3 separate regions of the Homo sapiens genome follow, and regions 1 and 3 are each linked to region 2. Evidence: promoter capture Hi-C in 16 types of primary human blood cells and fetal thymus (Javierre and others, 2016). All regions are on one chromosome and are shown on one strand. Each heading gives the region's core, a stretch centred on a gene start or on the middle of the fragment in contact. The rest is flanking DNA. Distances are from core to core; before and after follow the strand shown. Region 1 has its middle 7.5 kb from the start of POU2F2-AS2. Region 2 holds the start of DEDD2 (death effector domain containing 2). Region 3 has its middle 28 kb from the start of POU2F2-AS2.

Region 1 (2,700 bases), core at 130-2,629, 58 kb before region 2:
CATGGATATTTAATGAACATCTATTTGAAGACAAATAATTGAAATCATAGACCTAACAGTGACCTCTACCAACTGGAAACATAATTAAACCCCTCTGTTACTTCAGCCCAACTTTCAGACGTTCCTCAAAGCCAGTCTCTAGCTCCCAAACTAATTCTGCAACCTGGAAATTCCTTGACTCTCTTTTCGAGGATGTGAGGATTCCTGGAAAAACTGCAACTTCGGTTCCCTGGAGAAAGCACTCTAGAGAAATGACACATCCTGGAACAAACACTCTCAGCGATAACAGGGGTCCATGAATGAGCTTCAGGGGGTCTGTGATCATCCCAAAGTGTAGCACAACTGGGCAAATGTAGGTATGTGTTTTCCTGGGAGAAGCTCTATACTGTTGTGAAACTAGGTATCTATGGGCCAAAGGTTGCCTGAAATATGTTGTTTGGACCACGAGGAGATTTTGCAAGTTTTGCATTAGTTGCCAACATTTAAAGATTGGAAGACTTCACACACAAGTCTGGGTTCCTGGCTTCTCTTGAAAAATCAGAAACCCTGGCAAGTCAGGGTTGCATCTGTGCATGAGAACAGTCAGTGGAGCTAAAAAGCAGTCCCCCACCCCATGCATTTTTCAGTCCATCATAGTCCCTACAATGCTGGGTTGCAAACCCTGGGCTACAGCTTCCATCTGCTTCTTAAAATGAGACTGTGATTCCTGGTACAGCAAAGGACTCCTACCCAGGAGTCCTACAAGGGCACCCAAAGGCCTCCCTGGGGTCCTGAGACCTGTGGGTTAAGCTTCTCTGGTGGGAATAGGGGTGGCAGTAGAGGGCTGTCCCACCCCAGAAGCCCTGTCCACCCTCCTCCCTAGATGCTCATTGCCAGGGCCTCACCAAGCAAGCTGGAGCAAACACCAGGGCAAATGGCCAGAGCCCCTGCTTCCCACAGAGGTGAGCAGCAGGAGAACTATGGCTTCTACCTGGGAGTCTCAGTGGGCTTCAGGGAGGGGCTTCATAAAACCTTCTTTGTTCAGGGGAACGCTTCCAGCCATATTTTGAGCTCCCACTTCCTGCAGCCACACGATTTCAAGGAATAAGTACTTTCATCTTCACGCCACCTCCATGTGGTAAATGCTATTAATTACCCTCCTTTGACAGATGGGGAAACTGAGCCATGCCCAGGATCACTCAGCCACCTGGCTCTTCTTCCTCTATCTCCTTTTGCTCTCAGGATGGCACTTAAGGTGGGTTCTATTAGTATTCCCATTTACAGACAAGGAAATGGAAGCTCAAACTTTCCCAAGTCCCTCGAAGTCAGGAAAAGAGATTCGAACATAGGTGTGCTTGAACCCAAAGCTGTGATCTGAGCCACCGAGTTACCCCCATCTCTCTCCTACTGAGCCGTAACACTGATCAGCAGAAACACCCACAGTCATCAACACCAAGAACCACTGGTTTGGCCCGAAAGCCACAGGATGCATGGAGGGTGAGAACAAAGCAGTCAGATTCTAACCTCTGGGTGGGCAGAGTGGAGAAGGGCAGCAACACACCCAGGGTGAGGCCAGAGACGAGGATGGGAAAGCAGAGACTTCTGTGAGAAACCAGAAGGTGCATCAATAAGCAAAACTCTAAGGCCGTGGTCCTTACCTCTTGGGCAGACGCAGCGAAGCTAATACATTCAGGCCACCAACCCGGTCCAGTCGAGAACCTGGAGAGAGAGGAGAATGCAGTCAACATCCCGGAGAATTCCCCATCCTCATGCAGGATGATGCACTCCTCCAGTGGAGGAACCCTCCTCCTGTCACATCATCAGGAGCTGCAGTTGGCTAACTGTGGAGTCAGGTGCCTGGAACTCAGGTCCAGTCAGCCACTTGTTGCCTTCAGTAGTCACTTCTGGCCTCTGAGCCTCTGTGTCCCCAACTCATAAATGGGCATACTAGTGCCTGCCACTGTGGAACATCTGTTTTTCCCATCAGACTGGAAGCTTCTTAAAGTGCAGGGACTGTAACTGTGTCTTGAAGCTTTTGTGTTTGGCAGAGGGCCTGGCAAATTTGAGATGCTCAATTAGTGCATAACGGACGACGGAGTGAATGGATGGGTGGATGGAGGAATTAACTGATTAAATGGTGTATCTCAAAGGACTGCTACGAGGAACAAATGAGAAAGAAATTTGAAAAGGTTACTCATTATTAAGTTCCTATGTGCTCTGGGGAGATTAAAAATAAAAGTCATAATGATATTTCTGACTTGTACATTTGTCCATTCATTTGTGCATTTAGTTCATCAACAAATATTGAGATTTCTCTGGCTCTGAATCAAGTGTGGCAGGGGACAGAGATGAATTAGACAAGGTCTCTGCTCTATTACGGGGCTCACAGGCAAGTTGAGGAGACAGAAGGAAGAGCCAATGCCAACATGCTGGGGTAAGCAGAGGGTGCTGCGGGCATCCTGGGTGAGATCACAGAAGACTTAGGGAGGAAACAACACCCAAGCCAAACCTGGAAGACAAATTTTAATCAGAGAAAGAACCAGGTGCAAGGAACGAGAGAATGCCAGGACTTTGCCTGTCCAGGGTTCAGTAAGAAAAATGGGGAAAGACGAGGCTTCCAGATTGCAGGGGCTGCTCCCTGCAGGGCGTCAAGTGCCTGGTCCAAGCAGCCAGGGCTTCGTCAGAGAGGGAGAGGGATACAATCCAGTTTGCCTTTGGAAA
Region 2 (2,700 bases), core at 31-2,530:
AGACTATAAGGCACTAGTTCATATGAAGGGCTGACAGCTGTGCCTGGCATGAAACAAGCCCTCCGTAAACAGTGGCCAAAATCATCATCACTGATGTGGCCAAATTCCCAAAGCCATGCTTTCTTCCTCTTATGTTGCTCATTGATATTGTGGGAAGAGAGAGTAGCAGAATGGGACATAAGCTGCCTGATATGGCACTGTCCGTATCAGGGCACCAGGGAGGCCCAGCGGGAGCCAGGCCCTTTCCTCCCAGGAAGTGTGACACCCTCCCATTCAACCGTACCTGGCCGGCGCCGCTTGCGCGCCAGGTGCGGCAGCAGGTCGTGGCGGGCCAGCACGCGCAGGAGTTGCCCCAGCAGCCGCAGGTTGCTCTCGTCGCACTGCCCGCGGCGCTCCAGCTCCAGCAGGAGCTCTAGGCCGCTGCGGGCCCGGGCTAAGCCTCCGGCGGCGCCAGGAGCCTCATCCAGCAGAAAGGCCAGGAGCTCCAGCTCGCACTCGGTCAGTTGCCCGCCCACCACCTCGAACATACGGTGAAGCGACAGCATCCCGTAGTAGTCCAGGCACTCATCCTCCTCCCAGCACGGGGCCGGGGTCGACCCGGATAGCGCCATTCCCGGGGGAGGGAGGCGGAACAAGCTCAGAACCCGGCCTAGAACCCACACAGCGGGGAGGGGGCAGTGGTCAGCGACGCGGAGGCCCGAACCCCACACCGCCAGCGCGTCTCCCCCGCCCAATCGCGCCGGGCAGGGCCGCTCCCGCACCCCCAACCGCCTCGGCCTCCCCCTCCCCCGGGAGGGAATGGTCCCGCCCGAGGTCCCCTAAGAACAGGTCGGGACGCCGGAGCCCGCTCGGCTTCTGCCCCCACCACCGTGCTACGTTCGGAGCTCGCCTCCGGACCTGACCAAACGATGCGGCCCAAACAAGCCTCGGGGCCCACCCCGGGGCTCCCTGCTGACTGCCCCTGACTCTGGGTAGGACTGCCCAGACGAGCCCCTTTTCTCCGTCCAGCGGTACCGTCTGATGAGTCCCCCGGCTCTACGCAAGTGGTACCTCCCGAAAGTGACCCTCTGCCCCCTACACAGAGGAGCGACCCAGGCAGCCCCTTTGCTCCACACAGGTGGTACCGTCCGAACCCGACCCCCTCGCCCTGCAAGGGCGGCCCCGCCCGCTCCCCAGAGCCCAGGTGGTCCTGTCTACCCGCCACCAGTCACCATTAGGCCTCTCTGGATCCTCACCAGATTCTGGCGTCCGATGACTCCTGGGCGACGGCCGCAGCCACTTGTTTTGGATCTTTCTGGCACCTTCTCTATTATTACGCCTGCGTCACCTCGCCCCTCCTCCTTCCCCCAACTCGCGCAGGTGCGACCGCCACGCCCCTTCGGCGCATGCGCAGAACGAGGCCTCCAAGCCCCGCCCTTCCTGGGCCGCTTGACCTGCCCCCAACCGAAGCATCTTGGTTCGCGAGTGCTGCGCTTGCGCAGAGCGAGAGCACGCCGCCTCTTGGGCTGTATCTGGTACCCGGTTCCAGGTCCCTACTTCCTGCCCGTGACTCAAGCCACCGGGGCCATGTAGCGCCACGTCACGAGTAGTTGTAACTACTCATCTCATAAACTACAGCCCCCTCCTGATCACGAGCTAGACGCCCACATCACCACTGCCCCTAGTTGCCCGTGGCAAAGTAACACAATCACTACTTTCCCGTCTCCCAGTAAACTCCCAGGCCTTATATGATCTGGTCCTGGGCACTCCTCCATTAGATTGTCCCTCACTTCTAGTGACAACCAGGGATCTACATCTCAACTGTGCTCTCTCGTGATCCCAAATGGAAATCCCGCCCCCCCACCACCACCCCCGCAGTCTATAAGTTCCTTCCCCTGATCAAAACCAGAATTCCCTCATCTCACGTTCAGGACGGATACCTCCTTCCAAGCGGCAACAGAACCCTCCATTCCGACTGTGTACATCTCGATGGCGTCCATCACGACCCCCATCACAGTCAGATGTCTCCACCCAGAGCCAAAACGGCCCCTCCGTAACCCCTTCCAATCTCTGCCCTCCAGGGTCGCCCAGATACCCGCTCCCTAACTTGCAACAACTAGAGAGGGTCTGTCAGGGAGTCTAGGCTGTGGTGTATGCGTGTCCCCTTACCGCGGGGCCTTGGGTGTGACGGTCGCCACGCCCCCCACTTAGGTGACTCAAGGTCAGGACCTGCATGTACTTGAGACAAGTCCCCTCCCTGGACCTCTTCCCACCCCCGCAATTAACTCCTCTTGGGAGTCGGGAGATCTGGGTCCTGCCTAGCACTGGCCCAGTACTGGCTCTGCCTGAGCTGTAGCAGTGAATTCAAAAGAATCGGCTGCGCGCGGTAGCTCACGTCTGTAATCCCAGCACTTTGAGAAGCCGAGGTGGGCGGATCACACGAGGCCAGGAGTTCGAGACCAGCCTGGCCAACATGATGAAACCCTGTCTGTTCTTAGCCGGATGTGGTGGCACGCGCCTGAAATCCCAACTACTTGGGAGGCTGAGACAAGAGAATCTCTTGAACCAGGGAGCAGTAAGCAGAGATAGTGCCACTGCACTCCAGCCTGGGCCACAGGGCGAGACTTTGTCTCAAGAAACAAACAAACGCCAGGTGCGGTGGCTCACGCCTGCATTCCCAGCACTTTGGGAGGCCGAGGCGGGCGGATCACCTGAGGTCGG
Region 3 (2,700 bases), core at 167-2,666, 37 kb before region 2:
GGTACCCAGACCTGGGAGGGGGTGTGAGAGGGAGGGAACAGGAGGGGGAAGGCAGGGAGGGAAAGGGAGGAGGAGGAGGAGGACGCAGGCACGCGCTGCGCGGTCTTGGCTTAGCAGCTGCAACCGCCCTTCGCTTTGTTACCAGCAAGGCTACCCCATGCATACTGAGTGGACACGCGGGACCCTCATGTGTGTGTGAGAAACACGAGAATCACCAACTGCCCACGTGTATGGAGAACGCTCCCAAGACCTACACTGGAAGTGCGTAACATAAATAAATATAGGAAACACCTACCCCGTGGGCGTACAAAGTAAGTACCCAGGACCTGTGCAGCGTGTGCATAATAGACACAGAACTACCTACTACTCCCTGTACGGAGCAGCCTCCTGGGACCCGCACTGTGTGCGCAACACAAATAAATGCAAGGAATACTACCCTCTGTCCATACAAAGTAGGTATTTGGGTCTTATGCAGCAGATGCATAATGGACATGGGACCACTTAATACCCCCATACAGAGCAGACTCCTGGGATCCACACAGTGTGTTCACAACACAAATAAATACAGGAAACGCCCACTCCAACTGCACACAAACTAGGCACATGGGCCTACAGGGCATGAACATAGTGGACACGGAACCACCCCATAGCCACCTACCAACCAGCCTCCCTGGGACCCATACTGTGTGGGCACAACATAAATGAATGCAGGAAGTACCCTATCCCCCATGCCTACAAAGCTGGCACACCAACCTAATAGACTTAGCTAGTGTGAACATAAGAGACACCCATGAGCAGGTTCTGGTGATCCACAAAGGCACATAACAAAACTGAACATAAGAAACACCCACTCCGCTTGCATACAAAGGCACATGGGGTCCCAATAGTGAGGAGAGAACTCAAAAAAGGGTGTATATAATGACAACCCACACACTATCCATTCTGGAAGGAGCAACAAGGAATACTGGACCCTGCAATGAATCTACCCAGCAGACTCCCAGGTCCCTCCATCTGTACGTGTACAATAGACCTAGGAGGAGCTATGGACAGCCTGAGTACCTACTAGAAGGGAAGCAGGGACAGGGCAGAGACCAAGGATGTCCTGTTCCCTGCCTTGGCCCTGGCACCTACAAGGACCAGTACATGGGTGGGGTGGGGGGCGGTCATCCTTCCTAAGAATGACCAAGTACATAATAATTGTGTATACAGTGAGTATACACTAAGCACACAGCACCAATGTTTGTCTGTTTGTTTGTTTGTTTGTTTTGAGACAGGGTCTCCCTCTGTCACCCAGGCTGGAGTGCCGCAGCGTGATCATGGCTCACTGTAGCCTCAAACTCCTGGGCTCAAGCAATCCCCTCTTGCCTCAGCCTCCCAAGTAGCTGGGACTACAGGCATGCACCACCACACCCATCTATTTTTTTTTTTTTTAAGCAGAGATGAGGTCTCCATATGTTCCCCAGGCTAAAGCACCAATTTTAAGGATCCAAAAAACTTGGTTTGATATGTGCTAAGTCCATATCATATGCTTACTTGCCAGTATGTTAAGAGTCTGTGGTCCACAACCTATGCATGATTGGTATCTTAATTATCCAGAATATCCATATTAAGCAGAAGCTGACATCCCTCATGGACTTACAAAAGTCAGATCCAATAGGAGACTTAAGCAATCCGCACATGCAGGTTGTCCTAACTGATTTCTAGGGCTCCGCCCAGCCCCGAGTCATGATTCCACGAAGGCTGATGCAGCACATGTATACACACCAGGCACATGCAAAGACGTACACCATACACTGTACACAACACAGCAAAAACATGTGTGCTCTCTCTGCTTCTGAAATAGCATAATTCCAGAAGTACCAGATTCCTCTGAGGAATGTGTGTGTGTGCATGTCTGAGTGAGGGCCATCTCTGGGTACAGGTGTGCATGTACATGGCTCTTCCTGTACGAATGAGCTCAGCTCTTATTCCCTCCTCATTCTGCCTGTTCATCTTTCAGAAACATGTATACAAATAATAGTACCTGATGTATACTAAGTACAAAACATTGCAAGCTATGGATGACCTTAATTGAGTGTGTGCGTCTGAACATACATTTATTTATTTATTTATTTATTTATTTATTTAGAGACAGAGCCTTGCTTTGTCACTCAGGCTGGACTGCAGTGGCACAATCTCGGCTCTCTGCAACCTCTGCCTCCCGGGTTCAAGCTATTCTCCTGCCTCAGCCTCCCGAGTAGCTGGGATTACAGGCGCATGCCACCATGCCCAGCTAATTTTTGTATTTTTTAGTAGAGACGGGGTTTCACCATGTTGGTCAAGCTGGACTCAAACTCCTGACCTGGTGGTCCACCCACCTCGGCCTCCCAAAGTGCTGGGATTACAGGCGTGAGCCAACACTCCCGGCCTTGAACATACCTTTAGATAGATGCATTTGTTCATTAATGAAACATTTGTTCGCGCATCTGTGGCCATGTGTGTGCGTGTGTGTACATCTTGGTGTCTTGGTTACAAGTCTTGGGGCTCCCTTATAATCTCTGAGGATAAAGGGTGTAAGATAAGGGAAACGAAGGCACACAAAGCAGGAAGGGAAGAAACTGGGGAGAAGGAAAAAAGTGGTGCAAGGACAAGGAGCAAAAAGAAGAGACCTGTTATTCAGGAGGCTGAGGCACAAGAATCACTTGAACTCAGGAGGCAGAG

What was found. The method cuts DNA at HindIII sites, captures the fragments that hold promoters and counts their contacts. A CHiCAGO score of 5 or more calls a contact.
Region 1: a fragment that was not itself captured here is called in contact with the fragment with the promoter of DEDD2 in region 2 in 7 of 17 cell types (naive B cells, total B cells, naive CD4 T cells and 4 more); the score reaches 8.8 in naive B cells.
Region 3: a contact is called between a fragment that was not itself captured here and the fragment with the promoter of DEDD2 in region 2, in 7 of 17 cell types (monocytes, total CD8 T cells, fetal thymus and 4 more). The highest score is 7.9, in monocytes.

What each region holds. Positions count from the first base shown.
Region 1 is chr19:42,158,695-42,161,394 of GRCh38, forward strand. It overlaps a transcript of POU2F2 not described here. Among named protein-coding and RNA genes, the nearest start is that of POU2F2-AS2, 7.5 kb to the left of the region's middle. The HindIII fragment of the contact is 1,185 bases long and covers 788-1,972 here.
Region 2 is chr19:42,216,397-42,219,096 of GRCh38, forward strand. It overlaps DEDD2 (death effector domain containing 2), which reads right to left and starts at 1,281. Exons shown (of 5, transcript NM_133328.4): 1 at 1,236-1,281; 2 at 284-649. The coding sequence starts at 611. RefSeq lists silencers at 412-617, 699-758, 769-868 and enhancers at 1,640-2,516, 2,517-2,700. The HindIII fragment of the contact is 12,709 bases long and covers 1-2,700 here.
Region 3 is chr19:42,179,478-42,182,177 of GRCh38, forward strand. It overlaps a transcript of POU2F2 not described here. Among named protein-coding and RNA genes, the nearest start is that of POU2F2-AS2, 28 kb to the left of the region's middle. The HindIII fragment of the contact is 7,957 bases long and covers 1-2,700 here.